Linked DNA regions of Homo sapiens: regions 1, 3 and 4 are each linked to region 2. Evidence: promoter capture Hi-C in 16 types of primary human blood cells and fetal thymus (Javierre and others, 2016). All regions are on one chromosome and are shown on one strand. The core of a region is centred on a gene start or on the middle of the fragment in contact, and the rest is flanking DNA. Distances in the headings are between cores, read along the strand shown. Region 1 has its middle 4.6 kb from the start of NMI. Region 2 holds the start of ORC4 (origin recognition complex subunit 4). Region 3 holds the start of ARL5A (ARF like GTPase 5A). Region 4 holds the start of PRPF40A (pre-mRNA processing factor 40A).

What was found. Contacts are between HindIII fragments. The CHiCAGO score rates a contact against its expected background, and 5 or more counts as called.
Region 1: a contact is called between a fragment that was not itself captured here and the fragment with the promoter of ORC4 in region 2, in 2 of 17 cell types (naive CD8 T cells and total CD4 T cells). The highest score is 6.6, in naive CD8 T cells.
Region 3: the fragment with the promoter of ARL5A here is called in contact with the fragment with the promoter of ORC4 in region 2 in 2 of 17 cell types (fetal thymus and total CD8 T cells); the score reaches 7.6 in fetal thymus.
Region 4: the fragment with the promoter of PRPF40A here is called in contact with the fragment with the promoter of ORC4 in region 2 in 2 of 17 cell types (fetal thymus and total CD4 T cells); the score reaches 6.9 in fetal thymus.

The regions. Positions count from the first base shown.
Region 1 is chr2:151,292,402-151,296,118 of GRCh38, forward strand. No RefSeq gene overlaps it. Among named protein-coding and RNA genes, the nearest start is that of NMI, 4.6 kb to the left of the region's middle. The HindIII fragment of the contact is 4,328 bases long and covers 268-3,717 here.
Region 2 is chr2:148,018,714-148,022,499 of GRCh38, forward strand. ORC4 (origin recognition complex subunit 4) reads right to left here and starts at 2,024. Exons shown (of 14, transcript NM_181741.4): 1 at 1,920-2,024. MBD5 (methyl-CpG binding domain protein 5) reads left to right here and starts at 2,378. Exons shown (of 14, transcript NM_001378120.1): 1 at 2,378-2,971. RefSeq lists enhancers at 1,669-2,266, 2,446-2,545 and a silencer at 1,936-2,095. The HindIII fragment of the contact is 3,631 bases long and covers 1,082-3,786 here.
Region 3 is chr2:151,827,052-151,830,791 of GRCh38, forward strand. ARL5A (ARF like GTPase 5A) reads right to left here and starts at 1,370. Exons shown (of 6, transcript NM_012097.4): 1 at 1,080-1,370. The coding sequence starts at 1,125. RefSeq lists silencers at 986-1,035, 1,086-1,595 and an enhancer at 1,646-1,695. The HindIII fragment of the contact is 9,661 bases long and covers 454-3,740 here.
Region 4 is chr2:152,715,301-152,718,938 of GRCh38, forward strand. It overlaps PRPF40A (pre-mRNA processing factor 40A), which reads right to left and starts at 2,161. Exons shown (of 26, transcript NM_001365597.4): 1 at 1,930-2,161; 2 at 695-826. The coding sequence starts at 2,139. ARL6IP6 (ARF like GTPase 6 interacting protein 6) reads left to right here and starts at 3,320. Exons shown (of 4, transcript NM_152522.7): 1 at 3,320-3,638. The coding sequence starts at 3,325. RefSeq lists enhancers at 1,861-2,160, 2,709-3,414, 2,881-2,950, 2,971-3,060, 3,291-3,490 and 2 more and a silencer at 2,561-2,660. The HindIII fragment of the contact is 8,844 bases long and covers 1,866-3,638 here.

The DNA.
Region 1 (3,717 bases), core at 1,182-3,681, 3.3 Mb after region 2:
AATCTATGAATCAATAAGCTGGCTCTCACCAGACACTAGATCTGCAGGACCCTGGATCTTAGACTTGCAGCTTCCAGAACTGTGAAAAATAAATTCTGTTGTTTATAAACTACCAGTTTATGATGTTTTATTATAACAGTCCAAAAGGACTAATATAGCATAAAACAAATGGGAGGCACCAAGAGTTTAGTGATTATGCAAACTATGAGAAAGCTACCTGATATCTATTACATGATGATTCTCTTTTAAGAAAAGGCTACTACACCAAGCTTATGCTGCTGTTGCTAAGATTGTGTTGATCTGGTTTGCAGTTCATCCTTGGGGAAACTGGAACACTTATGCCCAGTATTGTGCAAGATCCTGGGGGGATACAAATGAATTCTGTAACTTCCTTCTAGTTTTCAAGAGTGTTCCCATTGGACTACATAAGTGGTAAAGGAAAATACTTACTCTTTTATCAGGCAAGCAGTACTGTATAGTTAAAAGCATGATTTTGGCCAGACATGGTGGCTCATGACTATAAACCCAGCATTTGTGGAAACTGAGGCAGAAGAATCACTTGAGTCCAGGAGTTCAAGGCTGCAGTGAGCTGTGACTGCACCACTGTACTTCAACCTGGGCAATAGCACGAGACCCTGTCAAAAAGTAAATAAATAAATAAAGCATGGTTTTGGTGTCAGAAATGGGTTTGAATTTCAATTTTTAGTTACTGAAGTTTCTCAGCTTCAATTTTCTCATCTATAAAATAAAGGTGTGGTGCATGAGATAGAGATGCATTTCAAGGACTAAACACAGTGCTCTGCCCATGGAAAGCACTCACTAAATTGTACTTGTTTCATCTTATACTACGGTGAGATTTTTTTTCAATTTTTCTCTTACATTTTCTTTATCTTTGTTCTTCCTCCCTAGAAAAGTACTTTTAAGAAATAAGGTCATTTAAAAATTTATTTTATGTTACCTGCAGTAACTGTACCTAGTGCACACTGTATAAATAGTTATTTCTAACTAGTCATTAAATACTAGAGTAGGAGTAAAATACTCTGGACCCAATGTTATAACAACCCCTTTGTATAGCTTTTCATACTCATGTGTGTGAATAAGTTTTTATAAGTGAATAAAATATTATGAGGTAGATCAAATACTTAGAAATAGAAATAAATTCAAGCAAAATAATAATAATAAAATTAAAGAATAAAGGACTTTATCTTGTCAAATCTGCCTGGACCACTGATTTATCATATAAACATAAACAATCACTTAGAAAATTTTGTTGTGTTAAATAAAGTACATAGAGAATAAAGTTGGTATCCTTGACAATGCTATAAAGAAGAACAATTAGTGTTTTGCTTATAAACTAAAGGCTCAAAAATAAACATTTATCTGTAGTATTCAAGGCTGTAAGATAGCAGTAAATCTCAATATTATATTAAGGAAATTTCTTAAAGAAAGTCTGAGAATACTGCTGATGTTTTCCTGCTTTGCTTTTCTCAATTATAAACCAAAAATGGCTTCTGACAGAACTCTCATAGGATGAACTGATGGTCGGATAAACCCAACTGTTTGCTTTGAACCTAAAATCACAAAGGAGAAAAAGCCCAGTGAATCTTGAGGTTTTCAGAGACCCAAAGAGAACATAGCCTTGGAATGCTGGAAAAATAAAAATATTAACTTTTATCGCCAAAAATCTCAAATGAGAAAGAATTGAGCAAAGCATCCAAATATGTCAATTCAGCTTCTCAGGGAGCTCAGTTTTTAAGAAAACATGCATAAACATAGTGAAAACAGCTAAGGAAATACTAAAAGACATGTATTTTGCTTGACTATATTTTTGTTTATTTTTGTTTTTGTTTTGTTTGTTTGTTTTTGAGATGGAGTCTGGCTCTGTCGCCAAGGCTAGAGTGCAGTGGCACGATCTCGGCTCACTGCAAGCTCCACCTCCCGGGTTCACGCCATTTTCCAGCCTTAGCCTCCTTAGTAGCTGGAACTACAGGCGCCCGCCACCACACCCGGCTAATTGTTTTTTGTTTGTTTGTTTGTTTGTTTTATTTGTTTGTTTTTTAGTAGAGACAGGGTTTCACCGTGTTAGCCAGGATGGTCTCGGTCTCCTGACCTCGTGATCCACCTGCCTCAGCTTCCCAAAGTGCTGGGATTACAGGCGTGAGCCACCGCACCCAGCCTTGACTATGTTTTTTAATTTGGGAATTTGTAGTCTGTTTTGCCTGATGGGGCTGCCAGAGGCATTCTAGAAATTGTCAAGCAGCAAGATTTGGATTGGTGTTTGAATATGTTGTTTCTGATTATTTTCCTGTCTGAAATAGTACTTTACAAGAGGTATCAAATGATTGCAACAAAGAAACTCACTAGTCACTAACCTATCCAGAATTTTAAAAAACGTAAGAGGTGGCCGGGCGCGGTGGCTCACACCTGTAATCCCAGCACTTTGGGAGGCCGAGGTGGGCGGATCACGAGGTCAGGAGATCGAGACCATCCTGGCTAACACAGTGAAACCCCGTCTCTACTAAAAATGCAAAAAAATTAGCAGGGCGTGGTGGCGGGCACCTGTAGTCCCAGCTACTCGGGAGGCTGAGGCAGGAGAATCGCTTGAACCTGGGAGGCAGAGCTTGCAGTGAGCCGAGATCGCGCCACTGCACTCCAGCCTGGGTGACAGAGCGAGACTCCGTCTCAAAAAAAAAAAAAAAAAAAAAAAGTAAGAGGCAAAGGAGCTCAACTTTTTGTACTACGTTAAATTTGTCTTCTGGTTGGTCTTAGTGAGCCTAAGTATAGGAATGTAATTCCCTCCCGCCGCCCCCCCCCCCCACACACACATATATATATTTTGAGAAAGGGTCTCACTCACCTATGCTGGAGTGTTGTGGCGTGATCTTGGCTCACTACAACCTCTGCCTTGGGGCTCAAGAGATCCTCCCACCTCAGCCTCCCCAGTAGCTGAAACCAGAGGTGCACGCCACCACGCCCAGCCGGCTAATTTTTTATGTGTATATTTTTTATAGAGATTGGGGTTTCGCCACATTTCCCAGGCTGGTCTCGAACTCTTGGACTCAAGCAATCCACCAGCCTCAGCCTCCCAAAGTGCTGGGATTACAGGCATGAGCCACCACCTAATTAATCTATCAAAATAGATTAATATGTATCTACGAAGATATATATTCGCCCAGCCTAATATATATCTTGATATAATAAATTATTTCTGTGGATCTCCCTTGAAATGTGTGGCATAGTTACAAGATAGGGAAAAATATGTTTTTGGGCAAGAAGACTTTCTGTACACCAGTGTTTGACAAACTTCCATGTCCATATAAATCAGCTGAAGATCATGTTAAAATATACATTCTGATTCTGTAGGATTAGGGTGGATATTTTGCATTCCAAAAGCTCCTAGATGATGCTGATGGTGCTGTTTCTTGTAAGAGGTGACAGCGTGCTGGCAGTCCTCGCAGCCCTCCCTCGCTCTCGGCGCCTCCTCTGCCTGGGCTCCCACTTTGGCGGCACTTGAGGAGCCCTTTGGCCCCGCCACTGCACTATGGAAGCCCCTTTCTGGGCTGGCCAAGGCCGGAGCCGGCTCCCTCAGCTTGCGAGGAGATGTGGAGGGAGAGGCGCGGGGGGAATCGGGGCTGCGCGCGGTGCTTGCAGGACAGCGCGAGTTACGGGTGGGCGTGGGCTTGGCGGGCCCCGCACTGAGAGCGGCGGGCGGCCCCG
Region 2 (3,786 bases), core at 774-3,273:
AACAGGCAAAACGAACCTAAATTGCTTAGGAATGCTGACATAGGTGGTTAAGAAATACTAAGAAAGAAAGCAGTAAATGATTGCCATAAAAATCAGTATAGTGTTAACCACTGAAAAGAATTGAGGAAAGGGATGATCAGGAATAGAATGGAGAGGGGAGCTTCTCAGGTGCCACAGACGTTCTAGTTCTTGACTGTGGCAGCGCTTACATAGAGTTCACACTTTATAGTTTTTCATTATACTATGTATCGATGTTTGTATGCTTAAATACTAAATGTATGGAAAAAGACACAAAATATTTAAAATTGTAGCTAAGGCACATTAACTGCCTTGCTGGTATTTTTTTTTTTCATTACAAAGTGGCAGACAATTGGTTACACTATAAAGACAGACAATTGGTTACACTACAAAGAAAATTTTAAAGCACAGGAGTCTAGTTTTGATTCCATCGGACATGATTACCGTACACAATACAGAAGATACTAAGGGCTAAGCAATGATGCATAAACGGGGTCCACTGCCCAAACTTACAGAAAGCAAAACGTGGAAAATTAGTAACTTTAACTGATAGTGTACACCTAAAGAACCTACACCGGCCGGGCGCGGTGGCTCACGCCTGTAATCCCAGCACTTTGGGAGGCCGAGGCGGGAGGATCATTTGAGGTCAAGAGATCGAGACCAGCCTGACCAACATGGTGAAACCCCGTCCCTACTGAAAACACAAAAAAATTAGCCAGGCGTGGTGGCACATGCCTGTAGTTTCAGCTACTCGGGAGGGTGAGGCAGGAGAACTGCTTGAACCCAGGAGACAGAGGTTGCAGTGAGCCGAGATCGCGCCACTGCACTCGTCTGGGAGACAGAGCGAGACTCCGTCTCAAAACAAAAAACAAACAAAAAGAACCCACCCAACAGAATTAAGTACCAACATAATAAATACGAAGAATTTTAGATTCTTGGTTTTTAAAAAACATACAAAGATGATATTCCTTCAAAATATCTTTACAAAACATATTGAGACTGTGATGCTTTATATTGATTGTATGAAAACAATGAAAAAGAACCAGCACTGTTTCACTATAAAAGCTTTACTAATGTAAATTTATAAATCCTTTCTTAAATATTTTGAGTTAATTCTAATTTTATGATAGAAATTCATTATTTTCAGCAAAAACAGCTGGCATTTGGGAAACCAAAGGCTCAAAAACTAAGAATAGTAACCAAAGAAACTTGACAAAACAGTCCTTTTAAAACTCTCATCTACACTATAAGGGGAAACTTTGATCACGTCCCTTCTCCTTCATCAATCGTAGAACTCAACATTAAGGACTACACAATCCCACATCCCTCTCCGAGAAAAAGCAAAGGCTTTGTGTTGTAGCAACAACGCAAGACATGGAGGGAAGCTCCACTCAAGACTTCCCTGCCTGCTCCTTCCCCAAAGCCACTCCAGAATACCAGGGAGGGTTGAGAGGTAAGGCATGAAGGGCGCAATATCCAATATGAGCAACGCGTGTGATGCATCTGGTCAAAATGCATACAGAGGACTTGTCTCTGTCCCTAGATAGAAGTCCTCCGTCCTGCAGTCATGAGGGTCAATTGCTGAGGCTTCACAGTTCCCTTCTCTCTTACACTCGGACCGTCACGCTCCTCACCTACTACCCCGATGCAGAGGTAGACTCAGGATCCCTGCACTTGTCAAGGATTCCTCGGCAAGCTCACGGGGCGGGAGTGGCCACAAGACGGAGCTCGCCTGGTCCTGGCCTTCCCGGCCTATACAAGCCTGCCCCCTTCCCAATTCCCAATCTCCACAGCCTTCCATCCTCCCACTTTCGATTCACCTTGCGCCACCGACGCCCCTGGCCTTCGTTTGCAGCAAGTTTACCCCCACCATTACCTCTCGCATAAAAGCCTGCATTTACCAGGTCAAAGAGGGGAACCAACGCCTGCAGGAATCGCTTCACCGAATCGCCTGGCCGCGTCCTCTGCTAGACTTCACCTGCCGCTGCGGACCGTACACAACCACTCCCGGCATGCCCCGCGCACGCACTACCTCTCCCACCCCGCCCCTCTCCCGCCCAAACACGTGACCTCCTTTCGTCTCCGTCCACGCCCACTTCCGTTCCTCCACTTTCCCTTAGGAAGGAGGAGGGAGCTGGGGGTGTTAAAAGCGTAGCGACTTCCTCCTCCTCCCCGCCCCCGCTCCTGTACCTCCCGCTACAATGTCTTCCGGGTCGCTAGCGCCTCGACGCCTTCTGGGAAAATAGCTCATTTCCTCCCCTCCCCCTCCTCCTGCCTTCAACCAACCAGCCACCCGTCAGAGAGGGACATGCGCAGTGAGTGCCTCCCGTCTCTTCTACCCGAACCCCCCCTCCCCCCCAAGCAGAGAGACCCCAGCAGCAGCAGCAGCTGATGATGAAGAGAGAGGCAGTGGCAGAGGGGGGGCACCTTTTATTTCTATTTTTAAAGGGACAGGACACTAATTCTACCCCACTTCAACCTTGAATTCAGGGGGGTGGGGGGAAGGCGGCTGAGTTCCTTCCCCCACCCTCCAGCCCTGAGCCCTGAGAGGGGGATTGAGCCTGAGAGAGGAGAAGGAGTTTCTTCTTCTTCGAAAACCCCCATCCACGACTCCTACCCCCTCACCCCTCCAACTCGCCTCCCTCCCTCCACCCTCCTCCTCTTTGGCCGTGAGAGGAGGAGAGAAAGAAACCAAAAGCCTCTTAGCAACACAGACCCTTTGCTGCTGCTGTTGCTGCTGCTGCTGCTGTTGCTGCTGCTGCTGCTACTGCTGCTGCTGCTACTGCTGCTGCTTGGCCCTGGCTGGAGACATCTCACTACACCCAGGAGCAGCCACTTCCCCAGCTCTCCTCCTCCTCCTTCGCCTCCTCCTCCTCCACTCCCCCCCTTTATTACCCTTTGTGTCATCCTCCACAGCTCCAGGGAAGGCACTCAAAAGTGGGGGGCAGGAAAGGTAAGTGTGTCTGTGGGGGCTTCATTGCCTTCCTCTGGCTCTGACTTTCACTCCGGGGCAACAGTAGCACCAAACCACATACGCAGTGGAGCTCCGGGGTGAGGAGGGGGTGGTGCTGGGGGGGGTGAAGGAGGGGTTGGAGTAGGGAGGGGTGTGTGAGGTGGGGTGCCCATCCTGTCAGGGGAGGAAGGGCACTTTTATTTTTATTTGCTGTTGTCAAAAGTGGTTTCTCTCCTCCATCTAACATCTGATTGTGTCTTGCTCCAGTGGGGGAGAATACAAAAACAACCCCCTCCTTCCTCCAATGAGGCGCCAGGGAAAGAGACAGAAAGAGGCACACTTTCTAGATGTCACTTAAAAAAAATTCATTGGAGAGCTCTTTTTCTCCAGGAAAAGCTCCACTGCATTTGTTTCTGAGTGGGAAAATGTCGGGATCTGGATTGTATTGGAACTGCTTATCCATTTGTAGACCTGAGTGTTTTCCCCTTTTTGGTCCTGTATGAGATTTGGATATTGACTTCAGTGTTGGAAGACTTGATTGGTTTTTGCTTTAAGGGTTTCATTTTCCATTTTTTCGTTTTGTCTGACTTCCATGGAAAATTTCAAATTTTTAGTTGGTAGAGGCCTTTGGTTAGGTTTTGACTTGCATTATTGCTTTTTTTTTGGTTAAATGTCTGTTTCATATATCAGTATATAAAGTCCAAAGCTCTAAAATGCTTAAAGTTTAAATGCCACTGCTATTGTCTGTTCCCACATACGTTCCTGATACTTATTTTCCATATGATGAGAATATTAGCTATTTTATAATTAATCTG
Region 3 (3,740 bases), core at 120-2,619, 3.8 Mb after region 2:
ACATAATAGATGCCACCATTCACGTAAGTCTTTATTGGAAAACTGGGACGTGACACCATCAGCTTACACAACAGAAAAACACAAACTAAGTTCCTGACAGCGGAATGATGAACCACCCAACTTGAGTTAAAAAGAAACAAAAGTACACCACTGTATCTTAATAAGTATCCAGTCTTTGGGTTAAAATTGTATTCTCTTTCCCCAGTTTTAGTCATTTTGTAACAAATTTTAACAAGCCTGATAGGTATTTCATGGCCATGTCTGAAGTTGGCTGAACTTAAGCATCCCTATATAACACACTTTACACTTAGTAACTTGCTAGTTACCTATGGTTAACAAATGTTTCATATGGTATGTTTTTAAAACTTTCAGTGAAACACTTTAACATTTTTAACCCAGCAAAACAAACAAAAACTGTGTCTAATAACCCACACGAGTAGAAAAATGACCTTAAGCTTAACCTTAAACACAGATATAATAAGTAAAACAAATGGAGAGAAGTCCATCTCTATTCAGGAGGCAGAAGAACCCCCCCTGCCCCCAACACACACAAAGACGGGTGGCAGTGGAGGGCAGGCTCATAAACCAGAGGTGTAATGGACAAGTCGAGCGATTCCTCCCGTTTTCCGCATTCTGCAACCCTCGGTCGCTCAGTGGTGCGGTTAGGGCAGCAATCTATAACCTTCATTCCAGAAGACCCCAGCACTTCTATGTGGTGTCCAAACACAACTGGTGAGCAAAGAAAGGGCTGAAAGACAGGCCAGGCCGTGCTACTCAGGGACGTCGGACCTAGGGCAAGAAACCTTTACCACTCTCATTCGAAATCGGAGCAATGGGTCTATTACGGAAAAGACTTCTTAGGAAGGTCTCCTAAGACAAAGGGCTGCGAGTCAGGAACCATCCCCAAGCTCGGGAGCCGGGACCGAACCGTCCCGGGCCCGTATCCGCGCAGCCTGCACCCCGCGCTGAGCTGGCGCCCGACCGAGCCGCCCACATTCCGAAGTATTCGGAGACCCCCACCTAGCCGGCCCGAGCTGACCCTCTCCCCAACCCGTACGCCCGCGGACCGAGCTCCTCACCCTGGTGATTGAACAGTCTCCATATTCTAGTGAAGAGAATTCCCATTCTCGGGCAGCGGACCCCCCCCCTCCAGACACCCGGGCCGCCTGGCTTCCCCCGGCTCAGGCTGAGGGGGAGGAGAGAGACGCGCTGGAGCCTCCGCCTCTGCTGCTGCTCCCGCGCTGGTCGCGGGCCCGCTTCCAGGGAACCGGAGGGAGGCCGAAGCCCAGGCCGCCCTGCCGCGCGCAAGGCCCCGCCGCTGCCGCCGCGGCACTCGCCTGGCTCGCGGACATCGCCGCCGCGTTGTCTGCGACGAGCCTCGCGGGCCACCGTCCTCCCCCAGCTCCTCTCGGGCGGCTGCGGTGGCGACGACCACGCGGGCGGGGGAAGTGAAGGGGCGGGCCTGGAGGGACGTGAGTGCGCAGGCGCGCGGCCAGAGGGGCGGAGCGTAGGAAAGGGCGCCCGCCCTGTCCTCGCTTATTTGCATAACCAAGACTGCGGAAGGCGCAGGACTTTACCCTGGGACTGAGGCTGTGAAGACCGCAAGTTGGGGCAGATGGCTTCCGACTGCTTGCTGTTGCGTCCCCGAGTATTTATATTTCCCTCGAATCTTCTCCACTGCGCCATAATGTAAACATATAATTGAGTACCCCATGTCCATCCCCAACCCTTCACATACACTACACTTAAAGTTCCACGTCATGACTCTTTAAGACATTGTGTCCCCTGTGGGTCTTTGAGGGAAAAGTCTGCTGCCCTCTGACACTCAGCTGAAGTCAGTGGCCTTACCTAGATAGTCACCTTAAAGCCATTTTTGCACTTCAGGGCTCTTTTCTCTCCAATCTCTTAACTCTCACGTCAGTATTGCCCAAAACAACGATTTTGATCAAGTCACTACCCTGTTTAAAAACCTTTAGTGGCCACCAAAGCTCCATCCCTTTCTGTTCTCGTTAACCTTAGTAAAAAGGAAAATAAAGAAAAATTGGGAGACTTGTAGGAGCCATTTGAACTGCTTTGCACTCCCATCCCCAACAGCTGAATGAAATTAAGCAAAATCAGCAATAAACCGCACCTTCCCAACTCACTTCTCCTAACTACCCAGTATTTTACCTCAAAATATAGAAAAGTAATTTCGTTGACTTCTTTTGGGGCTTTATGGTTAAAAAGCCAAAGTTTAGAGGAGCCATACATGAAGGGAAGGAAAATCATAGTAATCCATATTAATTTATGTATTATCATGTCTGGATTTACTTAATATTCTGTACACTGTTTAGAAGAACAATGTAGTTTGTATAACCAATTTGCATTAACTCTGTAATATTTCCATTCTCGCACACCGTAGGTAATGCTTTGGTAGCTCTAAGACTTTTTCAGACTCCCACACAGATGTCAACTTATGAAATGGATGTCATATACACATTATGTGATGGCGGAGCTTCATATTTTACAATCTACCCAAGGAAATGGTCTCCCAGGTTATTTTCCGAGTGAAGAAAGAAGAGAGAGAGAGAGACAGAGACAGAGAGTTTAAAGACCAATTTATCTATGATTACAGAGAAATGCAAAATGTCATTGGAGAGACTTCTGACTTCAGGCATGAGAGAGTAGGATGGTTTGAATATATCCTCCTACCATTAGCAAATAGAAAACTGCACAAAGTACAGGCAACGACATTTCAGATATTGAAAAACACATCACAGTACTGTGATTCTTTGCAAAAGAGAAAGGAACAGGTGGAGTCTTACCATTTCCTGGACTTTATCCCTAAAAGCAATTCCCAGTCAACTACGGAGGAAGTGGGAACCCAAATGAGAATCTGGAAACCTCTTAGAACTGAAGACGCATATCAGCATTCCCAGAGATCAAGGTGACTAGAATTTGTGAAGCAGAGTAACTGGAAGGAGGGAGCTACACAGAGAAAAGCTCTGGAAACCTGTTAAGGGGCCATTGAGTCTTTGGCTGCATATCAATTTGTGCTCGTGCAGTATGAACCCCCAAGAGGCTGGTCAGTCACAATTCCTGAGGAAAAATAAGTACCAGGAAACTGTAATGCAAATGATTCCCAGAGATTACAACGGGTCAGGAATCATTTGAGTTCCCTTCAGCCAGAGTGAAGAGAACTGAATATATAGGACAGGGGTGTCCAATCTTTTAGCTTCCCTGGGCCACACTGGAAGAAGAATTGTCTTGGGCCACACATAACATAAGCTAACACTATTGATAGCTGATGAGCTAAAAAATAAGTAAAATCACAAAAATACTCATAATGTTTTAAGAAAGTTTACGAATTTGTATTGGGCCACATTCAAAACCATCCTAGGGCCGGGTGCAGTGGCTCACACCTGTAATCCCAACACTGGGAGGCCAAGGTGGGCAGATCTCTAGAGGCCATGAGTTCGAGACCAGCCTGGCCAACACAATGAAACCCCGTCTCTACCAAAAATTACAAAAATTTGCCGGGCATGGTGGCGCAAACCTGTAATCCCAGCTACTCTGGAGGCTGAGGCAGGAGAATTGCTTGAACCCAGGAGGTGGAGATTGCACTGAGCCAAGATCAAACCGCTGCACTCCAGCCTGGGTGACAGAACAAGACTATCTCAAAAATAAATAAATAAATTAATTAATTAATTAATTTTTAAAAAGCCATCCTGGGCTGCATGCAGCCCACAGGCTGTGGGTTG
Region 4 (3,638 bases), core at 911-3,410, 4.7 Mb after region 2:
AATCACTGAATCAGCATTAAAACCTTTTGATCCAAATCACTCCTACAAAATGTCCATTTACAATTTATGCTAGAGATGGAAGGGACAGCTCATAAGCAGGAGTGTAGAAGCAACAAGCATTAAAAAAAAATAGTATAAGTGGAAAATGAACTACCTATTGGCACTGTCCTATGAAGAATCAGAATTATAGAGCACAAACTCCCCACCCTCCCTCACCCTCCTCCAACACACAAAGAGGAAGATATTTCAGGAATAAAATTCGCTCTAAACCAAAACAATAGCTATTTTCAGATTCTATTTATTTACATGGTCTACCAAAATCAGTTATGTTGCTGTATCAGATAATATTTACTTAGACCATCAACTTCAATTGGCATTCTTGAAAAAATAATCATTAAAAATAAAAGCCTGGATCCACACTTTACTTTTAAATAATAAAGAAAAAAATTCTTAGTTTTGAGGTCATCAGTAAATTTCTCAGAAGACTTTTTCATTATTTAAATTTCTCAGAAGACTTTTCCATTATTCAAATTTCCGTTACAGTCATGATTTAACATTTGGCTTATTTGAAATTATTCGGGCATAAACTAATCATTAAACAGCTATAACTACTGACCTAGATTCTGAAATCTTGATAGAATACCTGAGGCAAAAACAAATAAATAAATGCAAAATAAAACAAAAACAGTCTTACTTGTCCCATTGGTGGCCCTCCCATAGGGGGCATCATCTGCGGCATCATTCCATGAGGTACAGGAGGCATATTCGCTCTCTGACCCATAGGGTGCATTCCCATTGGGGCATAATGCATGCCAGGGTGCCCCATCTGAAAAACAGTGAACATTTTTAAATGAGCAAATAATACTAAATGCTTCTCAAAAATCTCATTTCAACAGATCAGTTATCTGAAGCGACATAATATTAAGCTTATGTGTAATAACATCATTGGATTAGTCTATACCTTGTTTCAAACAAAACGCATTCTGCTAGTATTTAAAACGAGCTTGCAAATTCCGTAAAAAAATGGGAAAAGTTAAGATGAATCCTGGACCGCTGGATCATAGGTTTTCTCTCTCTTTTTTTTAAGCACTGACTTAACCAGCTACTAATTGGCTTGCTAAGCTTGGAGGATACACATTGAATACTAATTTTAAAACTGTTATGGTGAAAACAACAACTCTCCTATTTCATGCAGATATAAAAGATAGCCAGCTATTGTTATTTTATAACACTACTGATTTTAAACTTTAAAATGCTCTATCCAATTAACTCAGGTGAGAGTCGGTCTTACAAAACACAAACAGTATGGCTACCCAGGCACAATTCACTCCTAACAAACTTATTTCCTAACATAACCTTTAAGACAGGTAAAATTCCTTCTGCCAAAAATACATTTTCAAAGACTGAGGTTCTGTCACTCACGGACACTAAATGCAAACAACTAATTCATCCTTTTTAACGCAGTTTAAAAAGACAACTACTTTCTTTACCGATGAGTCCATTGTTCTATGTTTTAAATTAAAACCACCTAATTATCTCCTGCCAATTGTCCCAACAGTTCCCCCTGCAGACCACCCCGACGACTAATGAAAACAAATTTTGGCAGCCGCTGTTAAAGTCTTACAGTATCAAGCCCCTGCCTCCCCCTCCCAGCTAAAATCGGGCCTAAAGCTCCAAGACGCTCACCCCGCCCAAGAGCCAGCACCTTCACCACGCATCTGTCTAGGCCAAGCCCACGGGGAACTTCCAGGGTCTCACATCCTTCTCTTTGTGCATTTCCACCCTCCACTTCTCTCCCTCAGAACATATCCCACCATCTCGAGTTCTTCCTTCGTCCACTCTTATCTTCTTCTCCTTTCGGAGAAAGCTTCCTGTTTCTCACTCCGTTTTTCATTGTGCCGCCTTCCCCCTGCCCCACTGATCCCTTACCGAGGGCCGTCTCCTCAGGAAGCCGTCAGCAGAGACCCAAGAGCCGGAGCAGAGGCTTGAGCCGGACAATCTCCGCTCCCCGTCCCCAGGACCCTGCGAGGGAGGATGGCTCTCCATTTCACTCACCATGAGGCCTCCACGCTCAGCTCCCGTCCCCGGCCTCATCGTCGGGCTCAGACTGCTCCGCCGGCGGCCACTGCCGCTACACATACCAACAAGAAGCGATCTGAGTGGCTGGCGCCCACTGGGGCTAAAGGTTAAAGGCTGCCCTGCGCTACGGGGCGGGATCAGCGGGGCCAACAGGCTGACGGGCTTCCCCGCTGTCCAATCAGAATGCGCCGCCGACACGCAGCTCTGCGGCGATTCGCCCCCAGCCTCAGCCTCACTCGGCGTCGCCTGCATGGGGGGGGGGGAGGAGGAGGACGGAGGAAGTTTCTGCGCCGAGTCCTCCGTCGGGAAAACTCTACCAACTTCCCCAGGGGAAGGGAAGACAACAGTGTCCCAGCTTCCCGAGCTTAGACCGCCTCACCCCGTAGGGGGTGGGGCAGTGGGGGTCTGCCACCTTCACCCTCCCCGCCCGAGTTACGTACGCCCCACAAACCTGAGGCCGCCAGGGGTAGGGTGGAGGGGGCGGGGGTAAGCAGCCTGTAGTGTTAGCGGTGGCTGGGACCGAATGCGCGCGCGCGGTGCTCGAGGCGGAGGGGAGGAGGCGGGGAAGGCGAAAGGAGGGGTTCGGAGGAGAGGGTTCGATCTCCGTACGCACCAGGTGGAGAGCGCGCGCCTGGGGAAGGAGGCGTGTCGAGTAGCGGGAGGGAAGTTGTAGTACGGGTGGGGAGAACCACACTAAAGGGAGATGGGGGTGAGCAGTTAAGGAACCGCGAGAGCGCCAGGTAGAGAGGTGCCCTTAATGGGGGAACCTGGAGAAGAGTGTGAGCGTAGTGGGGAAGAAGGGAGAAGACAAATAGGTTCGGGAATGTGTCTCCGAGGGCGCGAGCGGGCGCTAGGACCCGGCGTCGAAAAGATGAGGCTTTGGGGCTGTCGGGGCGCGCGCTCCCGTTGGTGACGCGGGGGTGGCGGAGGTCTCCGGCCGGGACGAAGCCCCGCAGGGAGTGGATACTCGACAGCCTTCGGCCTCCGCTCGCTTCTCCCTGCGCGCTTTCCTGCTCCCCTTTCCGGCTACAGCCCTGGGGTCGAGCTCTGGTCGAAGCGCATTCCGCCTCTCCTTTGGCCCTGCGGCTTCCTTTGCAACCCGCCGCCCACCCTTGCTCTCCGTGGTTTACCCCTGGGCTCTGAGGCCTGGTGGTAGCGGCCACTGCCGCGGATTGGCTGTTGCGGACCCGGGGCGGGGCAGGTGGGAGAGGCTCGTTCTCCGCGGGTTTCGTTGTGTTTCGCGCCATGTCGTTTGCTGAGAGCGGGTGGCGGTCGGCTCTGCGGCGCCGCGGTCCCGGCACCCCGGGCCCTGTGGCTCGGCCATCGTATTCCTCCTTTACTCAGGGGGACAGCTGGGGTGAAGGCGAAGTCGACGAGGAGGAGGGATGCGACCAAGTGGCCCGCGACCTGCGGGCGGAGTTCTCGGCTGGGGCGTGGTCAGAGCCCAGAAAGCGCTCGGTGCTCCCGCCGGACGGGAACGGGTCGCCCGTTCTGCCCGATAAGCGCAATGGTATCTTTCCCGCGGCCGCGGGCAGCAGAGCCCAGCCTCGGCGGTGGCC